Regions from separate parts of the Homo sapiens genome. Here region 1 is linked to region 2. Evidence: promoter capture Hi-C in human tissues and cell types (Jung and others, 2019). All regions are on one chromosome and are shown on one strand. The core of a region is centred on a gene start or on the middle of the fragment in contact, and the rest is flanking DNA. Distances in the headings are between cores, read along the strand shown. Region 1 overlaps GRK5 (G protein-coupled receptor kinase 5). Region 2 holds the start of PRDX3 (peroxiredoxin 3).

Evidence for each region. The method cuts DNA at HindIII sites, captures the fragments that hold promoters and counts their contacts. A contact is called where the count stands out against the background at its distance.
Region 1: a contact is called between a fragment that was not itself captured here and the fragment with the promoter of PRDX3 in region 2, in 2 of the 25 tissues and cell types used here (liver and spleen).

What each region holds. Positions count from the first base shown.
Region 1 is chr10:119,273,652-119,280,783 of GRCh38, forward strand. The region is part of intron 1 of GRK5 (G protein-coupled receptor kinase 5); the gene reads left to right. Among named protein-coding and RNA genes, the nearest start is that of GRK5-AS1, 62 kb to the right of the region's middle. The HindIII fragment of the contact is 6,532 bases long and covers 2,500-7,132 here.
Region 2 is chr10:119,177,171-119,184,441 of GRCh38, forward strand. PRDX3 (peroxiredoxin 3) reads right to left here and starts at 1,642. Exons shown (of 7, transcript NM_006793.5): 1 at 1,585-1,642. The coding sequence starts at 1,620. RefSeq lists enhancers at 521-1,165, 1,165-1,644, 5,703-6,448 and a silencer at 1,675-1,784. The HindIII fragment of the contact is 15,713 bases long and covers 1-7,271 here.

The DNA.
Region 1 (7,132 bases), core at 4,516-7,015, 100 kb after region 2:
TTGCAACCCTAGTTTCGTGATTTGGTTAATGGTGTTTAAGTGGCTGAGCCATGTATCTGGGGTTTTTCAGTGCCGTCACTATTATTTCTTGTTGAGATTTTTGCACAGTCTCCTTCCCTCAATCCTATGTGTTCTTTTTTTTGATGGAGTCTCGCTCTGTCACCAAGGCTGGAGTGCAGTGGTGCAGTCTCAGCTCACTGCAACCTCCATCTCCTGGGTTCAAATGATTCTCCTGCCTCAGCCTCCCAAGTAGCTGGGACTACAGGCACATGCCACCACACCTGGCTAATTTTTGTATTTTTAGTAGAGACAGGGTTTCACCATGTTGGCCAGGCTGATCTCAAACTCTGGACTTCAGTGCTCGGATTATAGGCGTCAACTACCGCGCCTGGCCTATGTATTCTTTTAAACTTCAGCTCATTAGAGCTGGGTTTGTGTCATAAGTGAGAGAGCCCTGAGGTGCTTGGTTTGAAGCAAAGCTTGGTTAGCCATCAGCATCTGATTGGAGACTGGTCCCAACCCACCCATGCCGCTGAGGAGGGGACATGGGTGCTGGCCAGCACCGAGATTAGAACACTGACCCGGTGACATGGGAGACTGTGGTTTCCCTCATGGTACAGAAACATAAACCATACTTGTTTTTGAGATGTCTGACCCTGACAAGACTGGGAAATAGAGCTAGCGACTGATAAGTGTTCAGGGGTGGGGCTGCATGTGGGCATTGTAGGAAAAGCGCACTGGCGAGAGGCGTACAGAGGGATCCCAGGCGTTAGCTTCCATTCCCAGCTTCTGTAGGGCACTTACCTGTGCTTCCTTCAGAAGGTGACCAACCAGTGAACTCTGCATGTTACCTTGGCCTTGTATAGGGTGGCTGGGTCGTCAGAAACCTGGGAGGCTCTGGACAGTTGACTTTACTTGGCTGTTCTTTGGTGTTTGTTCCATTCAGTGATGCTGCTGTGCCTCTTGAGGTGCAGGTGCAGGCTGGGTATTTCTCCCTCTAGACTGTTGCCCACAGCTGGAGGCAAAGGGAGTCCATTCATTTTTGCCTGTTGAATGAAGTTAGAGTTTTCGGTTTCTCTGTCCCCTTAGCTGAGGGGCTTTCACATCCTTTAAGAGAGCTGGCGCCCTCTGGGTGGAACACTGATCGGGAAGTCAGCACCCAGGGGTTCCAGCCTTGGTTCCACCTCTCACTGGGTGGCCTGGGGCACTTGTGGCCTGTAAGTACCTATTGTTATGAGAGAGTTGCTGTGCAAACAAAGACCCTTTTAGTTTAAACCTTCTTGGAGACAGCAATTTTGCAAAGCAGTAAGAACCTGGGATTTGAATTATGGTTTAGCCACAAGCTAGCTTCCTAAGCACTCAGCTTCCTCACCTGTAAAATGAGCTCATGATAGACCCAGCCTCTCTGGGTTTGGGGAAGATTGAGAGCATGCAGGCCCAGGAGCATGGTTCCTGGCACATGGGCTCAGCTTCGTAGGTGGTGGCTCCTCTATTACTACCCTCATGAGTGTGATGGTTTTATTACCACCAGAGTGAAGTTCCTGACTGTGAGGTTTCAGACGGGATAAGCGCCTGGAGTAAAGTGTCAGGGCACATGGTTGATCAGTATCTTGGGTTTCTCCTCTCCAAGCAGTGACCTGGACTTGACCTACTAGAAATGGGATCAGGTCTCCAGAGAGAGGAACCACCTTGGCTCTTTGACCTCGGTCAGGCTTGGATACCGGGCCTCCAGGTGAAAGCCTCAGGTGCTGTTATCACTTCCTGAGACAGCCAGTCCTCTCACTTCTGTGTTTCCTTTATTACACTTTACTATGAAGGAGAATTGATACAGAGGAAGAAAAACATACAGTGAACCCTTTATTTCCTATGATAAATGATGATTTTTGGAACTGGGGTCCAGTCTGAATTCTCTAAGGCATGCTTGTGCGTGTGCACGCTCTCTCTCTCTCTCTCTCTCTCTCGCACACACACACACACACACACACACACACACACAGAGTAATGGTTTTAAAGTCATGACATACTGTGCTTTTGGCTGCTGCTGTTTCTGACTGATGACCCCAATGAGACTCCAAAAAATTAGATGGGTGCGTTTGGAAGGCATTCAGAAATTACTCATTGGAAGAAAAATGCAGCGTTTGGAGGAAGGGGAGGGCTGAGCATGTGTAAAAATGAGTGTTATGCGCTTAGTGTTCCGAATTCAACATCAGTGAGGAAAGGGAGGGCCGCAGGAGTTTGGGGACCGTCTCGCTAAGCAATACTGCAAACACAGACAGTGACCCGATTTTCCATAGCTGTGCTAGCTCCTCAGGAGGTTTTGAGAATCCCCCTCATTTGGGTTTGAAGGAGGTCTCAGTGTCCTTCCTCCTCTGTTTGCCAGATTAAAGTTTCATACCTCAGAGCTGGGATACGCTGGGTTTTGATTGTAAAGGCATGCAGCTCAGACTCTGTTGTAAATGGTGAGTTTTTCTTTTTTTTATTACACTTTAAGTTTTAGGGTACATGTGCACAATGTGCAGGTTAGTTACATATGTATACATGTGCCATGCTGGTGTGCTGCACCCATTAACTCGTCATTTAGCATTAGATATATCTCCTAATGCTATCCCTCCCCCCTCCTCCCACCCCACAACAGTCCCCTTCCTGTGTCTATGTGTTCTCATTGTTCAATTCCCACCTATGAATGAGAACACGTGGTGTTTGGTTTTTTGTCCTTGCTATAGTTTACTGAGAATGATGATTTCCAATTTCATCCATGTCCCTACAAAGGACATGAACTCATCATTTTTTATGGCTGCATAGTGTTCCATGGTGTATATGTGCCACATTTTCTTAATCCAGTCTATCATTGTTGGACATTTGGGTTGGTTCCAAGTCTTTGCTATTGTGAATAGTGCCGCAATAAACATACGTGTGCATGTGTCTTTATAGCAGCATGATTTATAGTCTTTTGGGTATATACCCAGTAATGGGATGGCTGGGTCAAATGGTATTTCTAGTTCTAGATCCCTTAGGAATTGCCACACTGACGTTTTAAAAGTGAAATCAGAGAGTGTTTTTGGTTTTCTTGAAGCTGCCTTTGACATTTTAGCAACACAGCTGGGAGGGTAAGGTAGAAAACTCCAAGAAGTTGGAATTCAACTGTCAAAGTCAAAGCGGGGATGGACTTTTGGGAGTCCTGCCACAGCGGGACCTGAACTCAAGTCTTAACTTCTCCTCTAGGGCTCTTGTGTGAAAGAGGAATAGCTTCCTGCAGTTCACAAGGGTCGTACCATGATCAATTATTATTACGTTACACATCACTTCTGTACCAATTTATATTGGCACATGAAGTTAATATATCCCTATATCCATGCATTGCCTTTGTGATTTGGGAAAATCCGATGCCTTGGCCAAACCTCTGAATCATGTGACCACGTTTTAGCCTAATTTGGTGAACAAATCTTTAACCTCCATGTCTTCAAGTGCAGCATCAGTGGGTCATGGATCCAGAAGGTTGGCTGATTGGGATTCTCTTGCTGGGTGCTGCCGCACCTTGTGTGTCGGGTGCCGACACCTTGATCATTTCGGCCAGACCCCCAAGAGAGCCCACAGACCACCATGCTGGGTGGAGGCACCCAACACCTGGCTGACTGCGTGAACTTCTTGCTTCCCAGTGGCTCTCCAAACTAGTTGTGGAGGACGCGAAGGGGTTTCCTGATGTCAAAATAAAAATAACGATGTCTGTAGTTTCCCAGGAGGAATAATTGTTGATGTTGAGGCATGATCTCTGCATGCATTCTGTACCTGCTCCAGGGTGCCAGTGGAGGCTACACCCCTCTCCCCCTCTTCTGCTCTCTGCGACACCCCTGCCACAACAGACCTTGACTCTCCAGGCTGGGACCCAGGAATCCGTACTCTTTCAAAACCACTTTATTGAGTGTAATTGACAGACAGTAAGCCACACATATTTAAAGAATATGATTTGAGAAGTTAGGATATATCCATACCCGTGTGAATCTACATACCACAAACAAGTTATCCATCACTGCTGAAAGTTTACTCATGCCCCTTTATAATCCTGCCCTGTCATCCCTTCCTGTCCCCTGAACCCTAAGCAGCCACTGTTCTTGCTTTCTGTCGCTCTGGATTCGCTTGTATTTTCTGGATTTGCTTGTATTTTCTGGATTTGTCTATAGATGGAATCATATAGCAAGTACCCTTTCTCATGTGCCTTTACTTACTCAGCATGAAGATTTTGAGATTCATCTACACTGTTGGCGTATCAGTAGTTCATTCCTTTTTCTTATTGAGTAGTGACCCACTGTATCGATAGACCACAGTTTGTTTACCCACTCAACTGTTTGCGCAGGTGGGTTGTTTCTAGTCTCTCTATGGACAGAGATTTCCTTTTCTCTTGAGTAAATACTTAGGAACATCTGGATCATATGGTAGGTATAGGTTTAACTTTTCCAGAAATTGACAACCTGTTTTCCAAAGTGGTTATTCTTTGGGACAAGGAATCGTTGTTTTTAGATAAGCTTCCCCAATTCTCCTGTGGCCTCTCCCTTCCCGAGACGGTCTAATGGCCCTGAGCGATGGCTCCTATGTGCCCGTCTCCACCTGTTCTCTCAGGGCTAGCTTGGCCTTGGCACCTCACTGCAGGCCGCCCCTCTGCTTGGGGTGCTGGACAAGCAGAAGGGGAACACTCAAGTTCTTTCTCTCCATAACTGCCTTCGGGAAGCCATGGCAGATGCGTTGACTCTCTGTAGGGCTGGCAAGCTGTGTGGCGAGTCCCTTATCCAATGTCGCTGTGTCCCACAGGGAGGTCTTAAAGAGGCAGCCGACTTTTGTGGCCTCCTTGTGAAAGCTTCGATGCCTCAGGGATCATTTCTGAGCTGACTGCTAGTTGGACTTGGGCCCACTGAAGAGACAGCCTGGGATCGGATGTCCAGAAGAGACAGATCTGAGCACGTCTCTTTCCTCTCCCTCCTCTTTTCTTCTTAGCCCTTCCACCTATCACTCATTCATTGCCCCTTCCTAGGTTCTGTATTCATTTGCTGGGGGCTTTAACAATGAGACGTTATTTTCTCCCAGTCTGGAGGCTGGAAGTTCAAGGCCTAGGTGCCAGCAGGATTGGGGTCCCTGGAGCCCTCCCTCCTTGGCTAGGAGATGGCCGCCCCCTTGCTCTGAGCCCACATGGTCCTTCCTGTATGCACCTGCACCCCGGTGTCTTTCTGTGTCCTGACCTCTTCTTTTTTCTTCAAGACGGAGTCTCGCTCTGTTGCCCAGGCTGGAGTGCAGTGGTGCAGTCTTGGCTCACTGCAACCTCTCACTCCTGGGTTCAAGCAATTCTCCCACCTCTGTCTCCCGAGTAGCTGGGATTACAGGCGTGTGCCACCATGCCAAGCTAATTTTTTGTATTTTTTTTAGTAGAGACGGGGTTTCACCATGTTAGCCAGGATGGTCTCGATCTCCTGACCTCGTGATCCACCCGCCTTGGCCTCCCAAAGTGCTGGGATTACAGGCGTGAGCCACTGCGCCTGGCCCCTGACCTCTTTTATAAAGATATCAGTCACACTGGGCTGGGGCCCAGCCTAATGAATGGCCTCATTTTTGCATGATCTCCTCTTTAAAGGCCTTATCCTCAAATTTCTCCAAATACAGTCATGTTCTGAGGTGCTGGGGGTTAGAACTTCAACACAGGAATTTGGGGGCATACAATTCTGCTTATCACAGGTGCTGAGCCCTGAGTGCAGTGCTTATGATAGAAAGATGAGCTGGATAGTTCTTCCCCTTGTGCAGCTCAGCATCCTGGGGGAGAGAAAGTGGGAAGATCCAGTTTTCTGATGAAAGAAGATGGAAGGAGGAGGGCTCGGTGCTACTAGGGGGGTGGGAGTGGATGGTTAAGACCAACTTGACTCCAGTGACAGCAGCAAGGGCTCCTCATTCCTGTTGATGGTGTGTCCTTCAAAACGTGCCGTGGTTCTCAAGGAGTGAGTGGCGGTGGCCTGCAGCCCTCTGGCACTTTGTGGCCGAGGCCAGCTCCAACGCTGCAGGGCAAGAAGAGCCACGCTGCAGGGCAAGAAGAGCCACGCAGCAGCACTGATGTGCGTGCCAGTAACTGCCTGGTGTTCTAGTGAGTGCTCTCCCTCGAGGAGCCTACTCCATTCTCTAGGGGATCATGTGAAAAGTAGAGCAGCTTTGGGAAAGTGTGAAGTCTCTGTTGTGTCTCTGGAGAAGTTATCGCCTGGTTTGCACATGCTGGAGGGTGGGGTGGTGGTGGAGGAGGAGGGCGCATGATGCCTACAACCTGGCTACACTGGCTCTTTTCATCCTTGAATTCCTGCCTCAGGAACCCTACAAACCCAGTGCCCAGAGTATTGCACTGGGGCCAGAATGGGAAGAGCCCTGAATACAAGAGAACTGTGGTATTGGGGCTATACCTATAAGCATCAGGAAGTCCCCTGCTCTGTGCCCAGGGAGTTGGAGGCCTTAGTACCCTTATCTCTGGAGGCTTCTCCCTGGCCGTGCAGAACAGCTGCAGGAAAGGGGGAAAGCAACTTAACAAAAATTGGTCCAGGGACAAATTATGCTTAGTAATGGATTATCCCAAACATGCTTTGTCTGAGTGTCCTGAGGCCATGGTGACAAAAAGTTAGTGCCGTAACACACACGGAATCAATTCTCTGAGCCTGTGCACTGTCACACTTGTTGCCTCAAGCTCACAAATGGAGTTTTTCTTGTTGGTTTTAATACCTGCAGGAACGTGAATGTCGGCTCTCCAGCCAGCAAGGCCAGCGCCCACCCATCCATCCCTCTGCCATCCTCCATAGGTGGTTCTGATGGCTCTGGTCAGCTGTCATTCGTCCTCCCATCTCTCAGCCTTTGTAGGATAGTTGATACCTGTTTTATTCTTTTATTGTTATTTTAGGGGTCTCAGCATGGAAATATATTGGTGTATAAGTACCTGTTCCAGTCCTTGTTTTCACTTCTCTTGGGACTATACCTAGAATTGGAATTGCTAGATGCTATGGTAATTCCGTGTTTAATTTTTTGAGGCACTGCCAAATTATTTTTCTCCCAGAATGCTTTGGAGGCAATGACTTCCTGTTTCCTTCCTTCCTTCCTTCCCTCCCTCCCTCCTTTTCTT
Region 2 (7,271 bases), core at 392-2,891:
TTATTAGAAAGTTTTCCTGGACTGGTGACTGAAGGCTGAAAGGGCATCGTGCCAACGGTGGTTTCAGCTGTCCCTGTTCCTGTGAACCAAATAGCAAACCCCAAACTCTAAGAGCATGGATTGGATCTGCATGTTCTTAACACTCCCTTCTGCTTCCTTCTCCTAGGAGACTGGAAGGTGGAGAGGAACTATAAGAACACAAAGACCGGCTGGGCGCGGTTGCTCACACCTGTAATCCCAGCACTTTGGGAGGCCAAGACGGGTTGATCACCAGGTCAGGAGTTCGAGACCAGCCTGGCCAAGATGGTGAAACTCCATCTCTACTAAAAACACAAAACTTAGCCAGGCGGCGGTGGCGGGCACCTGTAATTCCAGCTGCTTGGGAGGCTGAGGCAGGAGAATTGCTTGAACCCGGGAGGCAGAGGTTGCAGAGCCGAGATCGCGCCATTGCACTCTAACCTGGGCGACAACTCCGTCTCAAAAAAAAAAAAAAAAAAAATCAGAAACTCCATGCGCTTAAAGCAACACAGGGTTCAGAAGCCAGGGGACTTGTGCAGGCTTTTCCCAGCACTATCTGCTGAGTATGTTCTACCATTTCAAGGTTTTCCTTAGAAAAACAAGGCCCCTCCAGCACCAGCGACAAGTAAACAAGAAGAGCCAAATTCAGCCTCTGGGAGTCTGTTAAAGGCTCAAGGGACATGTTTACTCAACTTTTTTTTTTTTTTTTTGAAACAGAGTCTCGCTCTTTTACCCAGGCTAGAGTGCAGTGGCGCGATCTCGGCTCGCTGCAGTCTCGACCTCCTGGGCTCAAGTGATCCTCCCACCTTAGCCTCCCCAGGAGCACTGACCACCATGCCCGGCTATTTTTTTTTTTAGAGACAAGGTCTCACTATTATTGTCCAGGCTGGTCTCAAACTCCTGGGCTCAAGTGATCTGCCCGCCTCGGCCTCCCAAAGTGCTAGGATTACAGGCGTGAGCCACCGCACTCTGCCGGTTTGCTCAACTTTAATGTTCAAAATGACTCAGGAGAACGAAAGGGGCTGTGTTGAACCCCACCAGAGAAAGCCGTGTACCAAAAGAGCACGACGCATTGCCCACAGTTAAGCAGGAAACAGCAGCAGAAACACGCGGGAGTGGGATTGGGAGGGAAAGCCTTTGTGAGTTTTTTAGCACTTTGCGCGTTTTTATCCAGTATTTAAGGGGCTGTTCACAGCAACGCCTTGATGTAGGCATCATTCTTTCCATCTTAAGTACACAGTCTGAGAAAGGCGAAGGCGCTTGCCCAAGATCACAGGGTCGGTGGCAGAATCAGGGCCAGGACCTTAAGTGGAGATGGGCCTGGGGACCGGGGACGCCGAAAGAGGAGGGACTCGGGGAAGAGACCGCGAGGATGGAGTGGGGAAGGGCGGTTCTGCGCAGGCGCATGGAACCTTCCCGGAGGGAGGCCTCTGGGTCCGTTACCCGCGGAAACCCTCCAAGAAGGGCGAATGGCCCTCATGCCCAGAAGCGCGGGGTCCTGTCTGAGAAGCACGTTCCCGGAGCCACCAGTGTCTCCACGCCTGTCCCCAGCCGACAGCCACTCACCGACGCTCGGAGCAACCGTCCTACAGCAGCCGCCATCTTCAGTGCACTCGGGCGCCACGGGGCGGGCAGAGACGCAGGGGCGGGGCCTACGGGGTGGTGAGCGGGCCCTCTGCTGGTGGGGGGGCGGGGCCGGAGGAGCCACCGCCTCCCCGCCTCCTGGAGACCCTGAGGGAGAAATTCCCTTTAAGGCTGAATGCTTGGGCAAGTGACACGTGGTTTTCCTACTGTCGCCCCAACCTTAAAAGAACGAATCCAGGCGGGGCATTAGGTATTTGTTTCCATATTTCCCACTGTTTTGTTAACCTTGTGTGGATTACTGTGTCTAGTATTTCTGTGACAGGATCCCTTTCTTATTTCAGCCTCAGGTAGAGACTTCCGGCTTCTGTATGAAATGGAATTAATTACAAATGCAGTTTTAGTCCGTTAATAAGCTAAGTGGGCTAGACACATCAAGGCTTTGTTGGCCTGAAATCCGCTGGAATTGTGTGTGGTCTAACATTTGGCCTCTCTTCCCAAAATTGGGAAAACTGGGACAAATTTAAAATTTGGTTTTTGTCTATTAATGAAGCCAAGTGTTCAGTGGTGAGCATAGTACTTGAAGCAACCACATCAAACATAGATAAAAATCACACCGTGGCCTTACAGTAAGTGTGACAAATTGCAGTCTTGGAGCTGGTATTTTCTTTTCTCTTTTCTTTTCTTTTCTTTTTTTTTTTTTTTGAGACTGGGTCTTGCTCTGTCGCCCAGGCTGGAGTGCAGTGGCATGATCTTGGCTCACTGCAACCTCTGCCTCCCGGGTTCAAGCGATTCTCCTGCCTGAGCTTCATGAGTAATTGGGATTCCTGAGCAGCTGGGATTACAGCCGCCTGCCACCATGCCCAGTTAAGTTTTTGTATTTTAAGTAGAGATGGGGTTTCACCATGTTGGCCAGGCTGGTCTCAAACTCCTGACCTCAAGTGATCCGCCCACCTCGGCCTCCCAAAGTGCTGGGATGATAGGCATGAGCCACTGCACCCGGTCTGAGTTGGTATTTTCCAATCACTAGTCATTCAATTAGCAACTTCGTTTCTCAAGTCTTCTTATCACCAAATATCACTTACTATTTTCTTTAAATTGGCTTTCTTTTTTTTTTTTCCTTTTCTTTTTTGAGACAGAGTCTCACTCTGTCGTCCAGGCTAGAGTGCAGTGGCACAATCTCGGCTCACTGCAACCTCTACCTCCTTGGTTCGAGCGATTCTTCTGGCTCAGCCTCTCGAGTAGCTGGGATTACAGGCGTGCACCACTAAACCCGGCTAATTTTTTTAGTATTTTTAGTAGAGATGGGGTTTCACCATATTGGCTAGGCTGGTCTTGAACTCCTGACATCAGGTGATCCTCCCACCTTGGCCTCCCAAAGTGCTGGGATTACAGGCGTGAGCCACCACACCCAGCCCAGTATATTTTCTAAAATCATCTCAGGTACCACTAGGCGCCACCCTGGGTACCAGTCCCCAGATGTGGAAAGGACTGCCTTGGATGTGTGGGGACACACGTTTCGACTATTTCACCTCACACCTTCCTTGTGTTTGTTTAATTGGTTTTAATTATGTCTGTGTTTAGCAGATGATTGAAAAGGAGACAATCATTTTGGAGCTCAAAATCGTACTGTAGGCCGGGCGCAGTGGCTCACATCTGTAATCCCAGCACTTTGGGAAGCTGAGGTGAGTGGATCACCTGAGGTAAGGAGTTCAAGACCAGCCTGACCAACATGGTGAAACCCTTTCTCTACTAAAAATTGCAAAATTAGCTGGGCATGGTGGTGCATACCTGTAATCTCAGCCACTTGGGAGGCTGAGGCAGGAGAATCACTTTAACCTGGGAGGCAGAGGTTGCAGTGAGCCGAAATTGAACCAGTGCACTCCAGCCTCAGCAACAAGATTGAAACTCCGTCTCAAAAAAAAAAAAAAAAATACTGTAGTTCACAATGGAATATTATTTATCCATAAAAGGAATGAAATACTGATATATGCTACAACACAGATGAACTTTGAAAACACTAGCTAAGTGAAAGAAGCCAGACACAAAAGAACAAATAGTGTGTGTTTCCTTTTATATGAAACATCTAAAATAGGTAATTCCAAAGGGACAGAAAGCAAATCAGCAATTGTTAGGGACTGGGAGAAGCTGGCATGGGGACTGACTATTTATTTTTTATTTTATTTATTTATTTTTGAGACAGAGTCTCCCTCTGTTGCCCAGGATGGAGTACAGTGATGCAATCTCAGCTCACTGCAACCTCAGCTCACTGCAACCTCTGCCTCCCAGATTCAAGCAATCCTCCTGCCTCAGTCTCCCGAGTAGCTGGGACTACAGGTGTGACCACCATGCCCAGCTAATTTTTTTTTGTATTTTTTAGTAGAGACGGAGTTTCGCCATGTTGGCCAGGCTGATCTCGAACTCTTGACCTCAAGTGATCTGCCTGCCTTGGCCTCCCACAGCGCTGGGATTACAGGTGTGAGCCAGTGCGCCCAGCCGGAACTATTTAGTAGGTACAGGATTTTCTTTTTTTTTTTTTTTTAATTTTATTTTTATTGATCATTCTTGGGTGTTTCTCACAGAGAGGGATTTGGCAGGGTCATAGGACAATAGTGGAGGGAAGGTCAGCAGATAAACAAGTAAACAAAGGTCTCTGGTTTTCCTAGGCAGAGGACCCTGAGGCCTTCTGCAGTGTTTGTGTCCCTGGGTACTTGAGATTAGGGAGTGGTGATGACTCTTAACGAGCATGCTGCCTTCAAGCATCTGTTTAACAAAGCACATCTTGCACCGCCCTTAATCCATTTAACCCTGAGTGGACACAGCACATGTTTCAGAGAGCACAGGGTTGGGGGGTAAGGTCACAGATCAACAGGATCCCAAGGCAGAAGAATCTTTCTTAGTACAGAACAAAATGAAAATTCTCCCATGTGTACTTCTTTCCACACAGACACGGCAACCATCCGATTTCTCAATCTTTTCCCCACCTTTCCCCGCTTTCTATTCCACAAAACCACCATTGTCATCGTGGCCCGTTCTCAATGAGCTGTTGGGCACACCTCCCAGACGGGGTGGTGGCCGGGCAGAGGGGCTCCTCACTTCCCAGTAGGGGCAGCCGGGCAGAGGCGCCCCTCACCTCCCGGACGAGGCGGCTGGCTGGGCGGGGGGCTGACCCCCCCCACCTCCCTCCCGGACGGGGCGGCTGGCCGGGCGGGGGGCTGACCCCCCCCCACCTCCCTCCCGGACTGGGCGACTGGCCAGGTGGGGGGCTGACCCTCCCACCTCCCTCCCGGAAGGGGCGGCTGGCCGGGCAGAGGGGCTCCTCACTTCCCAGTAGGGGCGGCCGGGCAGAGGCGCCCCTCACCTCCCAGATGGGGCGGCTGGCCGGGCGGGGGGCTGACCCCCCACCTCCCTCCCGGACGGGGCAGCTGGCCGGGCGGGGGGGCTGAACCCCCCACCTCCCTCCCGGACGGAGCGGCTGGCCGGGCAGAGGGGCTCCTCACTTCCCAGTAGGGGCAGCTGGGCAGAGGCGCCCCTCACCTCCCGGACGGGGCGGCTGGCCGGGTGGGGGGCTGACCCCCCACCTCCCTCCCGGACAGGGCGGCTGCCGGGCGGAGACGCTCCTCACTTCTCAGACGGGGCGGCTGCCGGGCAGAGGGTCTCCTCACTTCTCAGACGGGGCGGTTGCCAGGCGGAGGGTCTCCTCCCTTCTCAGATGGGGTGGCTGGGCAGAGACGCTCCTCACCTCCCAGACGGGGTCGCGACCGGGCAGAGGCACTCCTCACATCCCAGACGGGGCGGTGGGGCAAAGGCACTCCCCACATCTCAGACGATGGGCGGCCGGGCAGAGACGCTCCTCACTTCCTAGATGGGATGGCGGCCGGGAAGAGGCGCTCCTCACTTCCTAGATGGGATGGCGGCCGGGCAGAGACGCTCCTCACTTTCCAGACTGGGCAGCCAGGCAGAGGGGCTCCTCACATCCCAGATGATGGGCGGCCAGGCAGAGACGCTCCTCACTTCCTAGACGGGGTGGCGGCCGGGCAGAGGCTGCACTCTGGGCACTTTGGGAGGCCAAGGCAGGCGGCTGGGAGGTGGAGGTTGTAGCGAGCCGAGATCACGCCACTGCACTCCAGCCTGGGCACCATTGAGCACTGAGTGAACCAGACACCGTCTGCAATCCCGGCACCTCCGGAGGCCGAGGCTGGCGGATCACTCGCGGTTAGGAGCTGGAGGCCAGCCCAGCCAACACAGCGAAACCCCATCTCCACCAAAAAAATACGAAAACCAGTCAGGCGTGGCGGCGCGCCTGCAATCGCAGGCACTCGGCAGGCTGAGGCAGGAGAATCAGGCAGGGAGGTTGCAGTGAGCCGAGATGGCAGCAGTACCGTCCAGCTTCGGCTCGGCATCAGAGGGAGACCGTGGGGAGAGGGAGAGTAGGGAGAGGGAGAGGGAGAGGGAAGTCCAGGATTTTCTTTTGTGGTGATGAAAATGTTTTGGAACTAGATAGAGGTGGGTATAACATTATGAATTAACTAAATACCCCGAATTGTAAACTTTAAAATAATTAATTTTATATTTGGTGAATTTCACCTCAATTAAAAAAAAAATTAGAAAAAGGCCAGGCATGGTGGCTCATGCCTGTAATTGCAGCGCTTTGGAAAGCCAAGGTAGGAGGATCACTTTGTGCCCAGGGGTTTGAGACCAGCCTGGGCAACATAGCAAAACCCTGTCTCAAAAAAAAAAAAAAAAAAAAAGAAAGAAAAAGAAAAAGGAAAAGAAAAAAAAAAGAGAGAGAGAAAATGTAGAAGAAATAGGGACTAAAAACATTATATACTGTAGTCTACTCCAGTGATTTAATAGATCTAAAAGGCTCAGAAAACTGAGCCTTTTGGAGATGGAGAGACCTTCCCAAAATCACATCACTGGCTAGAAGCAGAGAGGTAGGGCAAGAACCCAGAAATTCCATACCACTGACCACCCAGCGTGTGTGTCTGATGGAGTTCAGCCTCAGCACCTTTTCCCCAGCCAACTCGTGAGATTACGTCATCCACACCCTCATCGTCTCCTCTTCTCCCTCATACTACAGGGTTGTTTTTTTGGTAGAAACAAGGTCTCGCTATCTTGCCCAGGCTGGCCTTGAACTCCTGACCTCAAGTGATCCTCCAGCTCCCAAAGTGCTGGGATTACAGGTATGAGCCACTGTCACAACAGCCTGCAGTTTTAAAGTACTTAAGCTTCAGTAGCTCAAGTCAACAAAAGGGGAGGGGGGAGGGGGGCAAAGCCAAGCCAAGGGGTCGCCTTCTCTTCTCCTTATGCCCACAGCCCTTTGCCGCCCACCTCTCCCTTCCCCATGCTGGAGGGCCTCTTGCTCTCCTATTGTAGGCGTGTGTTTTTTAGTTCCTGCACACAGGCAGTTTGGCTCATAACTAAACTTCACTATAAAAATGTAAAGCATGGTGCAAGTCAAAGCGACAGAGCAGAGTGGAGTTCCCTTAGAATTTCACCTCACTCATCCTGGTTTCAGTTTTAAAGCTCAGATGCATTAGTTAGTGCCAGCTCATAGGCAGGGTTAGGCTTCAAGGTAACATTACTTGAGGGCCTCATAATTGGCTCTGAAAGCAATTCTTTTTTTTTTTTTTTTTTGAGACGGAGTTTTGCTCTTGTTGCCCAGGCTA